Regions from separate parts of the Homo sapiens genome. Here region 1 is linked to region 2. The links are contacts of gene promoters, found by promoter capture Hi-C in human tissues and cell types (Jung and others, 2019). All regions are on one chromosome and are shown on one strand. The core of a region is centred on a gene start or on the middle of the fragment in contact, and the rest is flanking DNA. Distances in the headings are between cores, read along the strand shown.

What was found. Contacts are between HindIII fragments. The study calls those that stand out against the background at their distance.
Region 1: a fragment that was not itself captured here is called in contact with the fragment with the promoter of NUP133 in region 2 in 1 of the 25 tissues and cell types used here (spleen).

Annotation. Positions count from the first base shown.
Region 1 is chr1:229,297,842-229,301,940 of GRCh38, reverse strand. RAB4A (RAB4A, member RAS oncogene family) reads right to left here. Exons shown (of 8, transcript NM_004578.4): 6 at 2,869-2,964. Among named protein-coding and RNA genes, the nearest start is that of RAB4A-AS1, 29 kb to the right of the region's middle. The HindIII fragment of the contact is 5,464 bases long and covers 1-4,065 here.
Region 2 is chr1:229,506,136-229,510,106 of GRCh38, reverse strand. NUP133 (nucleoporin 133) reads left to right here and starts at 1,766. Exons shown (of 26, transcript NM_018230.3): 1 at 1,766-2,039; 2 at 3,949-3,971. The coding sequence starts at 1,858. NUP133-DT (NUP133 divergent transcript) reads right to left here and starts at 1,677. Exons shown (of 3, transcript NR_110630.1): 1 at 1,428-1,677. RefSeq lists silencers at 611-905, 1,846-2,075 and an enhancer at 1,676-1,795. The HindIII fragment of the contact is 14,911 bases long and covers 1-3,971 here.

The sequences.
Region 1 (4,099 bases), core at 84-2,583, 210 kb after region 2:
GGATACTCAACCCATATTACACATTACACACACACATTATGTATGACATTATGTTATATATATGTACCTTATGTATTATATGTATATACGGAAACTATAAGCTGATTTGTAATGATTTGTAGGTTATACAATAGTAAGTAAAAAAGCAAGGCGTGGTAGTCTATCATATGATACATTTTATATAAAAAAAGGGAAGAAAACAATGGTTTCTGAATGTATTACCCATTAAAAAAATAAAAAGTACTGCTGAAGAATCCTAATTTATACTCTTATATTTTTTTCACCTAGAGGTACTTATGATTTTGATGATCTCAGAAAAAAACACATCTTGGAAGACTGCATATGAGTTGTTCTATCTGATGCATTCAGGGATACAATATTAAAATAGCAAGGTCATGTAAATACAACCTCATGCTGAGCTTAATAATACTCAACAGTAAGCCAACTGTAAGGATTTATGTAACAGTGTCTTGGTTTTTGTACCAAGCTTAGTAATTTTTTTTTCTTTCTGATAAAAAAAAATACAAAAAGATGACATGTCCACTTCTGTTGAAACCCAGCCCTTCTACCTGGGCCCGACTCTCCTCCCTCCTACTTCACCTAGCACCCTCCTTCTTCCCTGCCCTCTCCTTGCCCATTCTTCTCTCCTTCCCCCTCAGCATTTAAACATGCTGGAATTTCTCCCATCACCCACAACCCCAGCTTTAAATTAACCCTTTGCACCCTACAGTGCCAGCCTGTGCTTCCTCAGGAGAGGAGTGGACACTCTGCTTGCTCACCTCCTACTTCTTCCTAACGGACGGCCAGCCATCTTCTACCTTCATAATTCTGCTGAAATTGTTCTTGATCAAAATGATCACTGACTTTCTATTCCCCATCCCAATGTGTGTTTTTCAGCTCAGTCTTAGCTTATGAGGCTTCCCTCTGTTACTATTACATTACATAATGAACACTCCTTTGATTTGCTTATAATTAGGGCTTAAGTGACACCCACATTCCCTTGATTTTCTTCACACATTTCCGACCATTTCCTTTTTCATCTTTTTTGTAGATTCCTCTTCCTCTGCTCATCCTCCAACTCCAGGGTTCTGTTGATCACTGCTCTCCTTAAACACTGTTCTCCGGACGATCACATTGCTTCCACAGTTTTAGCTGTTCCTATATATTGATGGTTCCCAAACTTATACTGCCAGCCAGGAACTCTTCCCCAAGCTTACTAGATAACTCCATGTTCATGTCTCAGCGTTACCGCAAAGGCCGCACATTTGCAACAGAGCCATCTTTACTCCCTCACATTCCCTGCTTCTCCTCTGGCTCCACCCCATCTCTGTCTAGAGACACCAGTGTGACAGCTGCGAGTCATCCTTGGTTCCTCCTCCCCTGCTGGCCCTTCCTCCTCACCTTGTCCCACCTAAGAGTCAGTTGTCCTGTCCCACTATTGGGCATATGAGTCATAAGATGCTACTGCCTAAATATATCTTAGATCCATCTCTCTCTCCATCTCTGCTTCCATATCCTTGTTAAAGCATTAATCAGTCATCTCTTACTAGGATTACTCAAAAATGCCTTATAATTGGTATCCTGGCCTCCAGGCCTGTCCTCCCTTCAGTTTGTTTTCAACATAACCTCCTACATACATGACTTATCTCAAGTCACAACCCAATCACATCACCCACCTGCTGACAACCCACCACCTACAGCAGTGGTTCTCAATCTTGGATGAACATTAGAACAGCATGAGTAAACATTTAAAAACACTGGTGCCTCGACCATACTTCAGCCCAATTAGTTCAGCGTCTCCAGAGGCAGAGCCTGGGATTAGAACTTTTAATGCATCTCAGTGTCTCTAGTGCTCATCCAGGGTTGACAATTGGTAATCTACAAGATAAAGTTCTAGATCCTTGATGAGGACTGGCTGGCTCCTGCCTTTCTTCAACCTTTTCTCCTGCTATTCCCTCTTCCTCACTCCCTTTGCTGGCTCACTCTTCCTTATATTCTGAAAGACTGAGCTCATCTAAGACCTCCCCTGAAAGCCCTCCCTGACACCTCCTCTATCCTCTGGCTGGGGCAGGTCCCCTTCTTCACGTTACCCTGAGCCTGTGCATCTCTCAGCTACTACATCAGCCTTGTGATATTATAATTATCCTCTGACTGTCTCCCATGAAAGACAGTTTCTTGGGGGGCAAGGGGTGTGATTTATTCATTTTTGTATCCCAGCATCTGACAAATAGGCACTCAGATGTTTGAATGAATCAATTAAAAGGTGATGCCCATATATAGTTACTTTAGTAAATGACAACTACACAGTATTTCGTCAGCTGCCTACATTAGGATTATTTTAAATTATTTTAATAAGCAAATACAAAAATGAGGCATTTTATAATTGAGGCATGCTCAGTAAGCTTCAGAAATAAAATTACTCTGGACTCCATAGTTCCATGATGCCCGATCTGCAACAATCAACACTATACCATGTACCTATAACTCCCTTACACATGACCACTGGCCCAACAGAATTAGCGTGCTGTTGACAGAGTGGACAAAGGCCTATTCTTCCTCCGTTTAGTGAAGGACCAAAGAAAGACTATGGTTCTAAATGCAAACACTCCCTGAAACCTTGACTACCTTTCCACAGCTGAGCTGGTGTGCCCATCCACTTTCATCACCATGGAAACCATCCTGATAAGGATGGGGCTTTCATCCTGATAAGAACAGGACCTTTGAACCCATATGTGATGATTTTAGGTTGGCAGGTAGAGAGAGAACATTCTTTACTAAATCACCCTGAAACTATTAATTAAAAGGTGATCTACTGAGCTACAGTGTAAAATATGCAGAAGAAAAGTTGCTTAATGGAAAGGCTTTTACCTGATTCGATTTTGTTAAGTATTTTTCTTGCACACTGTACAAAAGCCTCTTCTACATTCTCCCCTGTGAGCGCACTTGTTTCCAAAAACATCAGCTCTAAAATGGACATCAAACAAAATAAAGTCATGTTTAGAAGATGATCATAATTTTCACTTACAAAAGCCTGTGTAGCATTCTCTTAGAAAAGCAGACGAAATATAATTTATGACCTAAAACCATATATTTCTGTAAATATAAAATCAATATATGTCATTATGTGTTTTTTAAATGTTAAAAGAATTTTAGCCTTTTCTGAAAAGTAACTGCTATCTTGTGCTAGCACTTAACCTGGTGAAGGGGCTGAGCAAGCAACCAGGCTTCCCCAGCCAAATGACAGCCCATCAGAAAGGAGCTGGCTTGCCAAAATGGCCCTGCCATTGATTTCAGGGAAAGTTGCAATGTCCTTCTTCAAACAATCTGAGTGTCACCACAAATATGACCTACAAGTGTTTACACTTTTTAGGGGACTATATTGCAATCTGTCATACAGCCCATGAAGAGACAGTATAGGAATTAATACTCTTTCTACCCACCAGAGTGGCTGTTCATCTCAGCAGAAAGGCCTGTTCTGCTTGCTCTCTCAGCAAACCATGGCCTCTCTAGCCTCTTGTATCCTCACTTGTAAAAATGAGTTTAGATGACATCTAAATTCCTTTTCATCTTTGTTAACATTCTAAACTTCTGATTTCTAAACAGCTTTTTAAAAACTGTCATGATGGCATATGGATTTCTCTCATGTTTATTTTCTTAGCAAGAAACTAGTCAAGTTACAATATAATTTGGAATCTTAGAGTCCAAATATTGATATTAGGATTCTAGTTTTTGGTTCTAAAAATTAAAGTTATTTAAAATGTCTGAAGTTTTAAAAAATCATTCTCTTATCCATTAATTAAGCAACCATTAATTTTATGTGGCATTTTCATGTATTCTATATGGAAATTCAAAAAAGTTTCAAAGTTGTCTATAACCAAATGACTTAAAATGAAGCCAAAAAGCCAAGTATTTCTTCTTCCGCTTCCCTTTCTATTTGGGTTAATATTTCACCAAATTTCCTTCAAAATACATTAAAAAATAATGACATCATTTGGTTAGAGTCTTTAAATATTATTAATTTCACTTTAGCCCAAGATCTCTAATATTCAAAGACCCTAGACTGAAAAGTCATTACATAATGTTACTACATTTGCTTTTA
Region 2 (3,971 bases), core at 517-3,016:
TACATTAGGATGCTGGGGAAACCACTAACCAGTCCAACAAAGCACAAGAATAAAATTGATCCCACCAATCCTCTCAGACACAACTATTAATACTCTCTATTGCCTATTTCACACCCCTCCTTGTAAGAATGAAACAGGGAGGAAATGCACTGGGCTCTCAGAGCTATAAGACTCAACAAGCTGCCAAGTTGGGTTAGACACCCAGGTGGGAGAAGGAGTAAAGCAGCTAGCCTATGTAACCTTGGCAAGATGACTGCTCAGATGCCACTGGTGCATAGATAGATGACTGGCTTCCCAGGGGAATGTCAACAACTGACACCCACACTGTGGTCTCCCACATGTGAATACGTCAATGTTTACTTAACCATTCCCTTATTTCAACACACGTTGAATGAAAGTCTACTATGTGTCTGTTACTGTGTGCCACAAAGGTAACAAAGTCACTGCTCTTGCTGTCAAGACATTTAAAAGGAAGTACTTGACAGACAATTATGAAAACAAACTATTATGCAGGATAAAAATACAGTCTACACACAGGAGCAGAGAGGACAAAGGATAAGGGGGACCTAATCCTGTGGAAGGTTTCACTGAGAAGGCAGCACAGAACTAACTTGATGCGGAAGGTAGGCGCCTTCTGGACCAACAAGGCAGGGAGTGCATTCCAGGTGAGAGAAACATGGACATGGGCACTGGAGGGAGATTTGGGTTTTTAAGTTCTCGGAATGTGGAGTGCAAGTGGGAAGTGCTGGAAGTACAACACGGACGGAAAAGCCAACCTGACTTAGATCACATAGGACCTTGCAAAGGAGCTTAGCAAATAACCTACTGGCAATGGTCAGCCACTGAAGCATTTACAGGCCCAAGAGCAGCATTACGTTTGCCTTAATTCATTGTGTTGGCAGTGAGAAGATAGAGTGGAGGAAGACTAGACACAGGTAAGGAACCCTCTCCCCATCTCCCCTACTCCCTCCCGCTGGCAGAAGAGGCTACGCAGTGGTTGAGGGAAAGGTAAGTACCAGAACCAGGGCAGAGGCAGTGCAAATGTGTGATCTAGTACAGACACGTAGGACCTTACAACGTATACCATGATCTTAGGGTGGAGGTAGGTGTGAGGGATGACTGCAGATAGAGCTCTTCTCTTTGCCTTGGACAACTGGCCAGTTTTACCAAGCTGGAACAGAGATGGTGGTAGGAGAGGGGTCCTAAAGGAAAACATGAATGCGCTTTTCATAAGTGGATTGTGAGGAGTTCGCAGGACTTCCAGCTGAAATTGTCCCCTAGGGAGCTGAATGATAGGGGTCTGGGGGTTTTGAGCTGGATCCAGGTTAGAGACACGGATTTGTGGCGTCATCAGCGTGGATGAGACTGCGCAAAGTTGAATGGGAAAATGGCAAACCTAGAAAACAACAAATATCACAGTGCGATACCAGTGTCAGCTTTACGGCTTTTCTCCGTCCTCAGCTTGGAATGAGGAACATCTTTCATTTCACAAGAGGTTCAGGAACTACCAGTGTGAAAAGAGGCTACGTTCAAGCTGCTGGAGGGCCAGTTCCACCTAGGCGCAGTCAAGAAGGGCGCCTGGCTTTCCGGCTTCACGTCCCTGGAAGCTCGGCACTGCAGCGGTTCTAGATCTGGGGCCGCCGGCTGCCTTCCCGACCTACCTCGCTGACTGGGCACCGCCCTTAACGTCACGATCCCGCCCCCGCCAGCGCTCCGACCACAACCCGCGGGAGCCATTGCGTTTGACGTCATCATCGCGCGCCATCTCTTCCCTTAGGTGTTTAAGTTCCGCGCGCAGGCCAGGCTGCAACCTGACGGCCAGATCCCTCGCTGTCCTAGTCGCTGCTCCTTGGAGTCATGTTCCCAGCCGCCCCTTCTCCGCGGACCCCGGGTACCGGGTCCCGAAGGGGCCCGCTGGCCGGACTCGGGCCCGGCTCCACGCCCCGGACGGCTAGCAGGAAGGGTCTGCCCCTGGGGTCTGCAGTCAGCTCCCCAGTGCTCTTCTCGCCGGTCGGCCGGCGTAGCTCGCTAAGCTCGCGGTAAGTGATCTCCCTGGTTGGGTCTGGCAACCAACAGCCTCACGGGCCGCAGTGGGCCGGATAGGTTGTTGTCTTTAGAAGCCTTTGGAACCGGGGCGGCGGAATAGAATGCCACAGTATTGGAAAATAGACCTTTTCCACTGCTGCAGGTAGTATCTGCTTCGTTTTGATTATCAGTTGATCAGTTGATTCCCCACTTTGCATTTTTCATGGATACCTTTGTGCAGAAGTGAAGTACAAACTGGATTTGCATCAGTGTTTACCTACTTCCCACCTACTACCCGTGTGATCTGGTGTAAGTCACTCGTGATTTTCTTCATCTGTGAAATGGCGATAATATATCTCACCTGAGCCAGAGGAGTTATTATGAATTGCCACGATGCAGATGTAAGGTGATGGTGATAATGAGGACCTACAACCCTGAAAGATCATTGTTTAATGCCTAACATACCAACTGACATTAATATCTGATGATTGGTAATTAAAGGGTTTCTAGCTACGGAATTTAACTTTCTAGGTAAATTATAAGGAAAAGGCTTTACATAAGTGAGCTAAGAGTACTGTGATAGTTTAGTTACTAAAACTGCTCGTTTGGAGCACCAGTAAAATCATCACACACACACACCCCTCCCCACCCCCAACACACACCATGTTCATAATTAACCTAAAACTTTAGTGTTTCTGCATAGTTTTCTCTGAATTCATCTATAAAAAATGAATTTTTCCCTGCAGGAAACACAAAGTATTGTGTCTTGAAATTATGGTTAAAATTTATCTGTAAAATTTTTCAGTACTTTAAAGGAGAAGTGGTTTTGAAAGAATACACTGTATCTTTGACTTTTTTTGGCATATTTTGAAAAGTTCTTTTCAAAGTGCTGATCTTGTCAGTGTTTTCTATTCCTTTTGCGAAAAGTTGGAGAATAAAAGCATACTTTATTTACTGTGTGTTGTTTTATTTAAATCTCTTCTTGTGATCATTTGAAGAAAAACCTTTGTTATCCTCTGTCAGGAAACAAAGCCCTTAGCCCTTCTGTATGTGCATCTTCTCATTTAATTCTCGTGATAAGACATAGACTACCTTTTATTCTGGTGACTTTACAATATTCTAAATGTTAAGAGGGTGAGCAAGAAATAAAGTTTTTACTGTGATATCTGCTGTTGAGGACCATGTAACAGCTGATGCTCGTAACCTGTTCGATTTCTTGCTTGGTTGTACAGATCTGATAGTTTTTTTTTTTTTTTTTTTAAAGAGACAGGGTCTCACTCTCTGTCGCCCAGGCTACAGGCTGGTGCCACAATGCCCGGCTAATTTAAAATTTTTTTTGTAGAGACAAGGTCTTGCCACGTTCCCCAGGCTGGTCTTGAACTCCTGGTCTCAAGCAGTCTTCCCGCTTCGGCCTCCCAAAGTGCTGAGATTATAGACATGAGCCACTGCTCCGGCCAGGTCTGGTGGACTCTTAAGCACCTAAAGCTAGATGAGCTTAAATCTCATCTAAGCCAATATTTATAAAATGTATTTGACCACAACATATGGTAAAAGCTGATGTTTTATATTCTGTCTTTCAAAAATGTTGAGATCTGCAAAATGACCCGCTGTTTGAAAAAAAAAAAAAAAAAACACTGGTCTAGTTAAGCCTTATTTCACAGCTAAGGAGGCAGAATTATAAGGAGTTTAAGTGAATACAGGCATGCATTTCAATACTAGAGTCTATGGGATTGAAGCCAAGTTTTCCTAAATCCTGTTTTGTTTTTTTTTTACATGAAAAATATTACATTTAATTACATGGTAAATATGAGCCAGTGTTAATTTTTTTCAAAGAACTCCTTACTGTGAAAATATATACATAAAAAATTAGGATAATGGAGAATTTTAAGTTACAAGTAAGGTAATATAGACTCTTTTCTTTAGGGGAACACCAACACGAATGTTCC